Regions from separate parts of the Homo sapiens genome. Here region 2 is linked to region 1. The links are contacts of gene promoters, found by promoter capture Hi-C in blood cells and fetal thymus (Javierre and others, 2016). All regions are on one chromosome and are shown on one strand. Each heading gives the region's core, a stretch centred on a gene start or on the middle of the fragment in contact. The rest is flanking DNA. Distances are from core to core; before and after follow the strand shown.

The links. The method cuts DNA at HindIII sites, captures the fragments that hold promoters and counts their contacts. A CHiCAGO score of 5 or more calls a contact.
Region 2: a fragment that was not itself captured here is called in contact with the fragment with the promoter of PM20D2 in region 1 in 2 of 17 cell types (fetal thymus and naive B cells); the score reaches 8.5 in fetal thymus.

What each region holds. Positions count from the first base shown.
Region 1 is chr6:89,143,157-89,150,105 of GRCh38, forward strand. It overlaps PM20D2 (peptidase M20 domain containing 2), which reads left to right and starts at 2,899. Exons shown (of 7, transcript NM_001010853.3): 1 at 2,899-3,453; 2 at 6,109-6,257. The coding sequence starts at 2,989. It overlaps LOC101929004 (a long non-coding RNA gene), which reads right to left and starts at 3,710. Exons shown (of 4, transcript XR_942766.4): 1 at 2,537-3,710; 2 at 591-677. RefSeq lists a silencer at 2,716-3,645. The HindIII fragment of the contact is 3,355 bases long and covers 1,958-5,312 here.
Region 2 is chr6:89,604,565-89,611,730 of GRCh38, forward strand. It overlaps ANKRD6 (ankyrin repeat domain 6), which reads left to right. Exons shown (of 16, transcript NM_001242809.2): 5 at 1,443-1,541. It overlaps LOC124901359 (a long non-coding RNA gene), which reads right to left. Exons shown (of 2, transcript XR_007059673.1): 2 at 840-1,367. Among named protein-coding and RNA genes, the nearest start is that of MDN1-AS1, 30 kb to the right of the region's middle. RefSeq lists a silencer at 4,818-5,017. The HindIII fragment of the contact is 1,397 bases long and covers 4,602-5,998 here.

The DNA.
Region 1 (6,949 bases), core at 1,649-4,148:
TTTTATTTTATTATTTCTATCTTAATTCAAAGAATATAAACCATACAAAAGCCTGCTGCCTTTTCAAAAGGAGTTCTGAATCTGAAGCCCAAAATAATACCCAGTATAGTTGTACAATTTGGCTGTATTTTAGTTGCTTTTCCAGGGTAAAGGAAATTTTTGATCTACTCTTTCCACCACAGCACTCATTTGTCATGAATGTCCTGTTCTCAAAGTTATTGAGTCAGTTGTGATGACAGCTGGTTTTCTAAGCAGCCAGGAAAGAAGAGGAATCTTTATATATTTTTTCCCCTTTTTTCTCATCAGGAGCCAAGAAAGAACATTTATATACTTTAAAACCAGTCCTCAAGAGAGAACTATCTGCACTCCTCTCACCCCCCCAAAAAGGTTATACATCTTAATACTAAATTCTGGATATTGTATTGTTTCCTCAGATCCAGCACCAGCTAAAGGAAGGGAGCTTGTATACATTTTTTTTTGTTTCTAATAAAAACATACAGGTTCCTTACCAGTAGCACATAGATAGGGTAGACAGTTGTATGAATATTATGGGTACAAATGAAAGTAATAGTAAGAATTTATGAGCTGACCAGATTCTAGAAAGCCACATGTCCAACTCCATCAGCTTCCAGAAGCAATTCTTCCTGCCCCCAGCTCCACATAAAGGACTGAGAAGTCTAGGAAGAAGCATAACAATGTCTATTGGTAGTCAGTGTCGTTTAATGGTTAATTGCTGCCATTATTCAGTTAGTTTATTAGATTCAAGAAGAATAATCAGCCAACAAATATTTATTAACACAGAGGAAATGCTGACCATAAGATGTTAGGTGCTGGGGAATGCAGTGGGAAAACAAAAGAGTTTAAAGCCTGGAGGGGAAGATAAACGGTCAGCAAGTTATCACAGTTTATCAAATAAATGAATTCAAGGGTGCAAAATACCATGAGCAAGAAATACAAGGTGTCAACAGTAGAAACTGAATACATACGTGCCTGTGGGCATGTATACCCACCCACCCACCCACATATATACACAAGGAACAGAGCTTGAAATGAATCTGTCTTTCCTCTACCTCAAGTGGCAGCTTTGTTAATTCCTGCAAAGCAATATAAATAGCAGCTTCTATATGAAATTATATGCATCCCTTTTCTGTTGCTGTTTATTGATGCCTGAGGAGGGCAAACATGGGTTCTACTGATGTCAGCAGGCAGAGTTGCTGCAGTAAAATTTATTCAAAATGAGTGTTGTGGGTTCTGATTTGAATAGATAAACTGGAGATGCATTTATGAATTTGCATGTCTGTTTACACAAGCAATAGACCATGGTGGCTGAAAGTCAGCCACTGGAGGCTGACTCTGGCTTCTGTTCTACAGTGGGTCCACTACTTACTAGCTCTATAATCTTGGACATACATCTGTAAAATGAAGATAAATAACCACATTAACCACCTCATAGTTTGCTGTGAGGATTAAATGAGTTAACAAATGCTAAGCCCTTGGAACAGTGCCTAGCACAGAGTAATTGCTCTACAAATGTCACCTATTGCTTTTGCTCTCCAATCCCCCCTTCTCCCCTTTTTTTAGCCAACTAACTGAGCAGGATAATATTGGATCTCGTGGATACAGGGTAATTTTCTTCAGCAGAATACCAGAGAAAGATTTATTATCGCCAAGGGGGCCCAGGAATTTAATAACACATTTGTTGTTTTTAGAGCTGAGTTTTTGTTGGAGTGTTAACTGAGAAAGAAAGTTTTCAGACGTGAATGGAATGTGACATTTACTCTGGTATTATTAGCATATAGAGTAGTAAAAACAGTAGTTGATAGTCTTCGTGCATGTTAGCTTCCCTTAGACTTATTTTCAAAATATTCATTTGGTTTATCACATTAATATATTGTGTCCCATTTAACATAGTTGAGACAAATTAAGGAAAGATGATAGGGTATGAAGAGCTGATAGAAGCTTTTAATATGTGGAAAACCTCAGAATATAAACATCTACAGTGTTATTAATAGGCATACCGTCAACAACAGTTTTTCAGACTTTGTGGTTCACTCTGGAGAAAAACAAGAGCATGACATCTTGAATTTCTTCACTGGGTAATTAAAAAACTCAGTTATAATGTAACACCAGCTGCACATATCATGTTAGTGGAGTTCAGCATCAATTAAAATTATAAACGAAACCTGTCATATGTTCCCTTTCAAAGCTGTTCAAGACAACTGTCCAAATCAACAAAACAGTATGAATATTTACTACCATAAATCTTTTAACTCTTTGGTTTTAACTCATTTCAAATTTTTAGTTCTACTCTATTCAAATAAATTATTATATAATAGCTAATACATACCAAGAGCTTACTGCATAATCTAGCTGCTGTTCCAGACATTAGTAACCAATGAGAAAACTGTAGAGAGTAGCTGCAGCTTTTAGTAATACAATGTCAAGGAGAAGAAAGTGGGGGCAGTACCGAAACTTACGTACAGTACCGTCGTTAGTACAGCATTGACACTGACGGCCTCCTTCAGGAAATACAAACCTTGTGAGGTTTTAATTACTAATGCTACAGAGTGGCGTTTTTCCGAGGACTGTGTTCCACTTGGTCTGTCTCTGATGGCTATTAACTAATAACCGTTCTCATTCTGCTGCTGTGGGAAATAAGCAACAACGGAAAAGTAATCGATAATCTTAGAGCATAACTCAAAGGCCAGAGCAGCCAAGGAGGTGGAAGAGTCCCGAGCCCTGCCTTCTCCACAGCACCCCCAAAACCCCACGGCGGGGCAGAGCGCCTGGTAGGGTACGAGCGGCCGCCAGCGTTTCCCGCGCGGCGCCGGGGGCGGCCCCGGGACTGGGGGTGGTGCCCTGGGAGCTGTGTGGCCGCGTGCGCGCTCCGCCGGGGTCCTGGAGGCCTCTGGGCGCGTGCGCGGGCGGTCGCTACCTGCGGCCGAGCCAGGGAGCGAGAGGGCGCAGAGGGCAGCGGGCTTGGGCAGCATGAGGCCCGGAGGGGAGCGGCCCGTGGAAGGGGGCGCGTGCAATGGCCGCTCCGAGCTGGAGCTACTGAAGCTGCGCTCGGCGGAGTGCATCGACGAGGCGGCCGAGCGGCTGGGGGCCCTGAGCCGCGCGATCTGGAGCCAGCCCGAGCTGGCCTACGAGGAGCACCATGCCCACCGCGTGCTGACGCACTTCTTCGAGCGGGAGCCGCCCGCGGCCTCCTGGGCAGTGCAGCCGCACTACCAGCTGCCCACGGCCTTCCGCGCCGAGTGGGAGCCGCCGGAGGCCCGGGCACCGAGCGCCACGCCACGCCCGCTGCACCTGGGCTTCCTCTGCGAGTACGACGCGCTGCCCGGCATCGGCCACGCCTGCGGCCACAACCTCATCGCTGAGGTCGGGGCGGCGGCCGCGCTGGGCGTGAGGGGGGCCTTAGAGGGCCTCCCCAGGCCGCCTCCGCCCGTGAAGGTGAGGTGGGGCCCGGGTGCGGGACCCTATCCGACTGCCCGGGTCGGGGGCGACCCGGGAAGGGCGGGACTCTCGTGCGTCCCGCGCGCCTCGGTGCCCTCCCGCCCGGGGCAGGTGTGTGTGGGACCGCGCTAAACCTGCGGTCCTCGCCTCGGCGCAGGAGCAGAGCTGAACCCCCAGTCAAAGTCAGTTCGCGTTGCCGACCTGGCGACATCTTGCAGATTATTGTTTCCTCCTCTCTAGTTATAAACAGCTCTGCTGAGTTGTTCCCTTAGGAAAGAACTTACACCCAAGCCTGGTGTTTGTTACGGGTTATTTTTGGTAACTGAGAGAGGCAACAGCAATTTGCTGACAAGGTTGTGCCATCAATCTCAGGAGGAAATAACTTCTTGTAGGTAATCCTACGGCCCCTTTTTATTCGTCTCCAAATAAATCTTTTGTTTGTGGCAGTCCTAGAAAATGTGATTCAAGTCATTGGTATTTGGATAGGAATTTTCAGTCGCTAGAACCACCAGACCCCTAGAAGTATACAAATAAAGGGGAAGTGAATGAGCATTATACATAGATGAGTTCATCCTTAAGTCTTAATTTTTTTGTTTTATGATTTTAAGAAATACCTCGACTCTTTAAACAGGGAAATGTCGTTTATGTTTGTCGTAGGGCAAGTTTAATCCTGTTTTACTCTGCTTTTCCAGATGGTATATTCTACACTATGAGCTAAGATTCAATCGTCATTCAGTTAAGGGGAAAACAAATGTTTTATTTTCATACTCTTTAGTTCATTTCCCCCAGTGTCAGTAACCTTCCTCTTTTATCCTAACACTACATCTTTTGTGGCTTTTTCACTTTAGCTGCCTTCTTTTTTCTGTCTCTGGAGGCTCGTTTTTGCATTTGTTAGGTTTTTGTTTGGGTTGGGGGAAGCATGCTTTGCCATGTCACAAACACTGGAGAGATTTCGCTTCAACCACGTTTTTAAAGGTTCTGAGTAGTCAGCGAGAGACATATCGTATTTAATGAGTTAAGGGTCAAGAATGAAGAGCGGTGGGCAGATCAGTTGAGGTCTGGAGTTCGAGACCCGCCTGGCCAACATGGTGAAACCTCTGTCTCTACTAAAATATATTAAAAAAAAAAAAATTAGCTGGGCGTGGTGGCTCACGCCTGTAATCCCAGCTACTCGGGAGGCTGAGGCAGGAGAATCGCTTGAACCCAGGAGGCAGAGGTTGCAGTGAGCCGACATCGCGCCACTGCACTCCATCCTGGGCAACAGAGCGAGGCCTCCTCTTAAAAAAAAAAAGAGCGGCGGCTTCATGTCAGAGTTTGAGCACTGTAGAACCGCCAAAAAAAAGCTAAACTTTGAGAAATGTACACTCTTTTTTTTTTTTTTTTTTTTTTGAGACAGTCTCATTCTGTCGCCCAGGCCGAGTGCAGTGGTCCTATCTCGGCTCACTACAACCTCCGCCTCCCGGGTTCAGGCGATCCTCGTGCTTCAGCCTCCTGAGCTGGGATTACAGGTGTGTGCCACCACGCCCAGCTAATTTTTGCATTTTTTAGTAGAGACAGGATTTCGCCATGTTGGCCTGGCTGGTATCGAACTCCGGATCTCGGGTGATTCGCCCACCTCGGCCTCCCACAGTGCTAGGATTACAGGCATGAGTCACCGCTCCCGGCCCACTCTTCTAACTTCAAATGGTTGTTCTCAATTTTAGCAAGGTTAAGTTATTAATTATCTGAAAATGGAATTTAAGTTGATTTCCTTTGCAAGCCAAGACTTTTCCAGCTTGTTTCATTGTGTTCTTATACATGATCTTGAAAATATATTAGTTGTTTATTTTGATTTTTAAAATTGTTTGAAGCAGTTAAGCTTAAATATCAAAGTAAAATGTTTATTCTGTAAAGTTCTCTTTTGTTTAATTAGGTGTTTGGTGACCAATAAATCTGCCTGGTTGAACTGGTGGAATCGAATTAGTAAGTTTGTGTAATAGTTGGCTGTTTCTAACTGTGGCATTAAGACTTGTTTAATGTTCTTCATAAAGGATTAATGAGTTCAGACTTTTAAAATAGGTAGCCCAGTAAGGAATCAGAGTTTAGGCCAGAAGATCAGGACATCTAATCCTAATTCTGCCTGAAGACTTGCTCTGTGACCTGGGGCAAGACACTTCACTCAATTCCTCAAAAACACCCCCTGTAAAATGATGATAGAGATCACCCACCTACCTCACAGGGTTGTTGTGAGGATAAGTAGTAAGTTAACAGAAAGTTTCTGACTCGTAAAGTACTTAAGAATAATTATATACATACATACACTGAAAGGCTTAGTCGAGAGGAACCTTTTTGAAACAAATCCTAACAAATTTTGAGGGACTAAACTTGTAGTATTTTTTTTTATCTTTGCCATTAGTTGACTTGTAAAATTGGGAAAAGCTTTTTATAGTGTCTTTAGTACATACTTTGCACCAAGTTGGTATAACAATGTACATTTTGTGATTAATTTAGCACCATTTGTTGATGCCCATTGCGTAAGCGTCATAGAACAAAACCTGTCTTAATAGGTTAAGGACTTTAATGTAGATTGTGAATACATATGCAGGTGAACCTGTTTGATATATTCCTATGAGGATTTTGTTGTTTTTCCCTGACATGAGTATTTCCTTCTAGGTAGTTGTCCTGGGAACCCCTGCAGAAGAAGATGGTGGTGGCAAAATTGATTTAATTGAAGCAGGGGCTTTTACAAATCTTGATGTTGTTTTTATGGCCCACCCATCACAAGAGAATGCTGCTTATCTACCAGATATGGCTGAACATGAGTGAGTAATCAAGTTGAAGATAAACTTCTTAGGGGAACACAGGCTATAGAATACTTTTATGTCTAAACCAGAGACGAAAACTCCACATTTGTATATTTAAGAAGTAAATTGAAAGACAATAACAAGATGTCTTGATCTATGGAGTGACATTTGGCAAGCCTCTTCTAATTGAGATTCATTATGGTGTTCATAATTGGAGTATTAAAATAGTAGCACTTAGAAACCATAGGAATAACAAACATGTTGACAATTAAGTTCTCTTTTGAACTGTCAATAATCTGGTGTCTGGAAAACATCTGTCCTTTCATATGAAATTGTCTTTGCAACTGAATAGATTTGCGAGAGATCGTTCTATTAGCTATGGGAAGAAACCACACTTATCCATTTTATTTACTTTAATTTGAGTTCTTTGCAAAGAGGATAAATTATGTCCTGAGAGAGAATATGGAACATGAGTAGCTATGGTTTTTGTGGAACTTCTCATTCTGTGCTTTTCCGATTTGTCTGGTGCTGAAACCTTTTATTTGTCTTTCTTTATGTTGAAGAACTCACTTTTTAGTACCTAGGAGCACACATCATTGAAGTGGTTTGGATTTTTTATACCAGAAATTTCAACCATAGTAGTAACTATAGTAGTTAATGGTCCAGGCACAAGGAGCCAGTGCTCAGCTGCTTCAGCAAAACCATGTGTT
Region 2 (7,166 bases), core at 4,050-6,549, 460 kb after region 1:
GGACAAATAAGTGTGCAGCTTGTTGAATTTCACTAGCAGAACACACCTGTGTGAGCACCCAGCTCAAGAAGCAGCTCATTGCCAGCACCCAGAAGCCCCATACCCTGTGCCCCCTGCCCCTTGCATCCCCGCTTTCCTTTGGCTTCCTCCTTCTGCAGTCAGTCCCACTGCCCGGGCCACACACCGCCAATACAGTTCCCAGCAACCACCCCATCCCCTGGCCTTTGAGACCCTAGACTTCCCCTTGTGGAGGTCAGCTGTGTTAGGCCTTTATTTTTAGCTGTTTCTAGGGGCATGGATGTGGTTGAGTTAAAGCTGAAGCCAGAGCCTGGATGTAATTGGAGAATGCACCTGCACTGACCTCTGCTGATTGCCCTGCACCCTTCCTTCTCCGGGCTCTTCCCTCCCTGGAACTCCTGCCTTCCCGCCCCCACCCCACTCAATTCATTGCACTTAATGATATTTATTTGTTTAAAATAGTAAGCTAAGCAAATACGAGCTATGTTCATTAAATGACTTCTATTTAAAAGCAACACATTAGGCCGGGCACGGTGGCTCACGCCTGTAATCCCAGCACTGTGGGAAGCCAAGTGGATCACTTGAGGTCAGGAGTTCAAGACCAGCCTAGCCAACATAGTGAAACCCTGTCTCTACTAAAAATACAAAAATTAGCAAGGCATAGTGGTGCATGTCTGTAATTCCAGCTACTTGGGAGGCTAAGGCAGGAGAATCGCTTGAACTCTGGAGGCAGAGGTGGCAGTGAGCTGAGATCACACCACTGCACTCCACTCTAGGTGACAGAACAAGACTGTCTCAAAAAATAAAGGCCACACATTGAGGATACTTGTTTGTTTTATTTCCAAATCACTGTTTCCTCAGTCCCTGTTCATTATTTGTTTGGGGCCCTGAGGCTTTTGAATTAAGGTGGGTGAGATTAAGTTTCAGTGAAAAAAAGTTGGGGAATCGATCAGGCCCCTGAATCTTATGAAGATGGCCTCTTCCTTTGCCTGATCTTTGCAGGGTTCTCTCTGATGCCAGGAGCAGAGCAGACTCTAAGGGTGGTGGAGGTGGGAAGAAATAGATGGCATGCTATCCTGATGATGCTTTCTGTTAAACGAGAGCTGTGGATGGGGCCTAGAGCCTCTCTCAACTGGGGTTCCTAGAGAGACTTAACCTCTAATGCCTTATGAACAATCATCCATGGTTCGTCATGGATTCATTTCTCTTCTGTGCATCTAGAATGGTTCTTATGATGTATCATTTCTGGGATAATGGAGAAACTTACCACTCAAATCATCTTCTGTAGTCTGTGGCTCAGATGAGAAAGTCCAATTGAGAAAGGCCGTCTGGTGTTCCGTAAAAATCCACTGTGATGTATTGATCATAATGAGAAGAATTAGGTCTTGGGTAATGTGCCTTTCCCACCTGTGTGTCTTCCTTAGGATGGGAATACAGCCTTGCATGAAGCATCCTGGCATGGTTTCAGCCAGTCAGCCAAGCTGCTCATTAAAGCAGGAGCCAACGTGCTTGCCAAGAACAAGGTGAGGCCTGGCAGATGCTAGAATGCCTCATTCACAGGTGAGGATGGCTGTGGGTTTCTCCCCCTGTGGGAGCCTTCTTCCAGTGAGAAGAGTGAGAGCCCAGAGTGGCACGAGGAACCTGAAGGTCCATTCGGCCCAGAAGTTTCATTTGCAGAAAAGGCTAGAAGCTGATTGATATTCCAGGTCAGGAGCAAGTGCACCAACAGCGCCAAAACCCTGCTTATGTGAGAGGCCCCTGACTGCTGCTGGGAATCTACATGCGATTACTGTCCCATAGTTTTTTTGTATTCAAAAAATATGGCAATGGAGTTGGCATTAAAAAAATCAGCAAAAGAACTTTAAAATGCTAATACCGAAAATTAGTAAAGTGGGCTCCCCTAGATGCTGCTGGGAAAGTGTGATACGAATAGCCACCTTTGGGAGACAATTTGGCAAAACAAATCAGGAGCCTTAAAATGGTCCTTTTTTGGCCTGGCATGGTGGCTCACACCTGTAATCACAGCACTTTGGGTGGCTGAGGTGGGTGGATCACCTGAGGTCAAGGGTTTGAGACCAGCCTGGCCAACATGGTGAAACCCCATCTCTAATAAAAATACAAAAATTATCCGGGAATGGTGGCTCATGCCTGTAGTCCCAGCTACTTGGGAGGCTGAGGCAGGAGAATCGCTTGAACCTAGGAAGCAGAGGTTACAGTGAGCCAAGATTGCACCACTGCACTCCAGCCTGGGCACAGAGTGAGAGACTGTCGTGGGGGCAGGTGGGGGCGGGGGTGGGCCTTTTTTGGCCAGGTGCAGTGGCTTATGCCTGTAATCCCAAACTTTTAGGAGGCTGAGGCAGGCGGATCACTTGAGACCAGGCATTCAAGACCAGCCTGGCCAACATGGTGAAACCCTGTTTCTACTAAAAATACAAAAAATTAGCTGGATGTGGTGGTGCATGCCGTCATCCCAGCTACTCGGAAGGCTGAGACACAAGAATCGCTTGAACCTGGTAGGCGGAAGTTGCAGTGAGCTTAGTTCGTGCCACTGTACTCCAGCTTGGGTGACAGAGTGAGACCCGGTCTCAAAAAAAAAAAAAAGGTCCTTTTTACTTGGTACCTACCTTTCTTGGACTCTATCCTAAAAAGGTAATAAAACCTGCTATTGAAATGAAATATGGAAAAGAAAAAAATAAGCAATAAAACCAGTAAAATTTTACCGACAAAGATGTTCATGACAGCAGTAGTTATATTTTTTTAACTGTGGGGAGGGAGACTTAGAATTATGGTTCATTCATACAGTGGAATATAATTAATATTAAAATCGTAGTTTTGAAAATAATGCTTTCCACTGTTAAAGAACATCACAAAGAGATATAAGATCATATATAGTACATGTCCCAGTGCTTAATATAAATTTGTGTATTTAAAAATTTAAGCACAGAAGAATATCATCAGAATATTAACAGTGGTTATCTCTGGGAATTGAGGCTAAGATTGATTTTTATTTTTGTACCTTTCCCAAATTTTCCAGAATGAACCCATTATTTCTTTTACAATTGGGAGAAGAGACTTTTTTTTTTTTTTTTTGGATACAGAATCTCGTTCTGTCACCCAGGCTGGAGTGCAATGGCACACTGTCGGCTTATTGCAACCTCTGCCTCCTGAGTTCAAGCGATTCTCCTGCCTCAGCCTCCTAAGTAGCTGGGCATGTGCCCCCACGCCCGGCTAATTTTTCCATTTTTAGTAGAGATGGGGTTTCACCATGTTGGCCAGGCTGGTCTTGAACTCCTGACCCCGTGATCTGCCCGCCTCAGCCTCCTAAGTATCTGGGCATGTGCCCCCACGCCTGGCTAATTTTTCTATTTTTAGTAGAGATGGGGTTTCACCATGTTGGCCAGGCTGGTCTTGAACTCCTGACCCCGTGATCTGCCCACCTCGGCCTCCCAAAGTGTTGGGATTACAGGCGTGAGCCACTGTGCCCATGCCAAGAGATATACTTTATCTCAAAAATAAAAAAGCGTTATCAGTACTCTGGAGATATTTGCAGTTGAGGTAAGAAGGGTCATAAAAGGGCTTACCCTCTTTTCTTTCCCTGGATGGCCAGATTGGGTCTGTAGCAGGGGCCTGAGAATTTCCCACAGTGCACTGCCACATCACAGAGTGGTAGCTTCAGCTAATAGTGGTAGGATAATGAATCAGGTGGGCTAGAATGGGGTTCTAGGTGGCAGTAGCCTGGGGACAATGGGCAGCAGTAAGTACCCTCCCTAATACACACACACACACTATATATATATATATATGTACAATTTCATGGCCAAGTCAAATCTGAAACCATAGTATCTCTAGCTTATGACACACAGACATCTGCATACAAGATCTTCAACAGCAATGCCAGGCAAATCAAGCTATAGAAATATACCCCATCAATGAAGTGACTTCTCCAGACCTTGCATGCTGCAGGAAATAGAAATGACAGCCTGAAACTCCTTTGTGAACGTAATCTCTGTGGGAGCAAGAGAACCCACCTCAGTGGCTTTGCCCTCCGGTGAAATCTCCTGGCTCTCACTACTTTTCCATTGGTTCATTAGAGAGCATAGTTAAGCAAGCCATGCCTTCGTCATTTTCATCCGTCTCCCCTCTCCAGTCCCTCATTACATCTTAGGACATCTTCAAGTCTCACACCTGTTCCTCTTTCCATGCTCATTCTTAAGCATGCCCTGGATTATTTCAGATGCCTCAAGCAGATTGGCAGGCTCAAATCTAGTCCCTCCTTTCATCCTGCTCTTCCTCTGCTCAGCGACCTTCTCATAAAGCTCCTGTCTGACACTGTCTATAAGCCTCTGCTGGCCCACCTCTGGAGTTCCTCCTGGCTCCTTTCCCCTAGAGCACCTCCTGTGCCCTCAGAGTGGGGCTCACTGGCCTGCTTCTCATTCCTGCCTATAGACCTCCAACCTGGCCCCAGGCCCTCTCCCTCCCCGAAGACCCACTGGGCTGCTTCTGCAACTCTCCCTTGGCACCGCATGCAGCTTTGTGCTGTCGTTTCCTAGTTCATATTTTTCATGGTTCCCTCATGGATCAAAAGCTTGAGGTCTGAGAGCAGCAAGCTACGTATGGTAATATCGCCGGTAGTGCCTGGCTCACAGCTCAGGAGGTGGGTGGCTGCCCATTTCTTCAAAATGCATATGGTCTGGAACAGGAGTTGATGGTGTGTAATCACTTTTTTTTTTCTTTTTGAGACAGAGTTTCACTCTTGTTGCCCAGGCTGGAGTGCAATGGCTCAATCTCGGCTCACTGCAACCTCCGCCTCCCGGGTTCAAGCGATTCTCCTGCCTCACCCTCCCGAGTAGCTGGGATTACAGGCACCTGCCATCACGCTCAGCTAATTTTTGTATTTTTAGTAGAGACAGCGTTTCACCATGTTGGCCAGACTGGTTTTGAAATCCTGACCTCAGGTGATCCACTCACCTTGGCCTCCCAAAGTGCTGGGATTACAGGAGTGAGCCACCGAACCCGGCCTGTAATCACCACGTTTTTTTGTTTGTTTGTTTGTTTTGAGACAGAGTCTCACTCTGTTGCCAGGCTGGAGCGCGATCTCGGCTTGCTGAAACCTCTGCCTCCCGGGTTCAAGCTATTACGCTGCCTCAGCCTCCTGAGTAGCTGAGACTACAGGCACACACCACCATGCCCAGCTAATTTTTGTATTTTTAGTAGAGACGAGGTTTCACCATGTTGGCTGGGATGGTCTTGATCTCTTGATCTTGTGATCCACCCACCTCGGCCTCCCAAGGTGATGGATTACAGGCGTGAACCACTGCACCCAGCCCAGAAATTGTTTCTGTGTAAATAAAATGGCTTCAGAAGGACAGGTCAGGAAACTCATGCGTCTCAAAGGGAGGGACATTTTGTACCAGCCATAGCCCGTAGAAAGATCCTTCTTATTCAGCAGATGTAGCAGCTCCTGTCTGGGAAATCAGTACCCACTACTCAGGGTGGGGAAAAACGCCTGCTACATATATATCTACCCTAGGTCACATTTTCTAATGTCAGGTTTTGAGATATAGGTATGAAGTCACGCTGTTCTGTGAGTTTTGACAAATGTATACGGTTGTGTAACCCCCACCATAAGATATAGAATGTTTCCATTGCCCCTTAATGTTCCTTTGCGCCCTCTGGTGGCAGGCCCCCAGTCACCCTCTCCCAGCCCCGGGCAACCACGGATCTGTTTTGCTTGTTCATAAAGGTCATGTAAATGGAATCATACAGTATGCGGCCTTCTGTGTGTGGCTTCTTAAACTTAGCATAATGTTTTTGAGATTCCTCCGTGTCGTTACATGGAGGAATGGTTCACGCCTCTTTATTGCTGAGGAGTATTCCATTGTGTGGATCTACCACAATTTGTTTATCCAAACCTATGGTTTTTAATTTTCTTGGTGCAAATGCTTTTCCACATCATCGATATTTCCTTATTGGCAATATAAGCTTTGGTATGATCTATTTCTAGAGGCATCAGATTTCTTTCATTTCACTCATGTATTCAACACGTATTTAGTGGTTGCCATGAAGCCCATAACTTGCAGACAACTTGAGAGTAGTGTTTTTAAAACCTGGGCAGACCCCTTGTTGCTGAGAACTAAACTAGCAGTGGTTCTCCACCTGGCTGCACATTAGACCCTCCTGGGGAACTATAAACAAACGAAAAAGGAAAAAAAACAAAACTTAAAAAAAAAAAAAACCTGAAGACCAGGCCTGGGGTGATGGACTGTCCCAGTTTGCCCTGGGCTAAAGGGTTTCCCGGAATGTGGGACTTTCAGTACTAAAATAGGGATGCTGGATACCCATCCCCAAGGCCACATAAATCAGAGTCCCTAGAACGGTTGTGGCTGTGCACAGGGCTGGTTTGAAAGCTTCCCCAGGTGATTCTAATGTGCACCCAAGGGTTGAGAACCAGCGAGCCTGCTAGAACCTCAGGCCTGTAATCCTCCCTGTGCCTGGAGGTAAAAGTGAGACAAAAGGTCCACCAGGGCTGGTTGGAGCTAAGGTGAAGAGAAGGGGGATAAGCAAACTGGCCGCATCCAGTATTCCTCTATTTTTTTTTTTTTTAACTCATTTCTCTTTTTAAAAGATCAGGAATCTGATATACTGGAGTATCGGCAGCCAGGACTGTGAGATCCAGAAGGGTGTGAACTAGGTGAGGGAGAAGCAATGAACAGGCAGTGTAATGCTCTGAGCCCACGCACCTGCAAGCCTGACCCAGCACTTGAGCTCAGCAGAACCAACGCGGAGCTTCTGTGTTTAACCTCCTGAGTGCTTGCAGGCTCTTGGATGACACAATGTCACCTATCACACGGCCTTGCTTTCTTGTTACTTTTCTAGGGGTTATCAGCGGCCTCACATGCCCTACTCCCATAGACTCAAAAGTTCTGTTCATGTCCTGCAATTTTTTCCTGCAGTATTGCTATGGACCTTATTCTGACCCTTGGTTGTCATTGTGATGTGGTTTGTTGAGGTTCTCAAAAACAAGAAGGACCCAAAAAGCAAGAGGGTCTCAATCTGTGTCCTAAGTGATAGATGCAACTGTACTGCCTGAAAGGCAGGGCCTGGTGTCCATAGTTAAAATTTTGATGTTTCAAGAAAAATACAAGAAT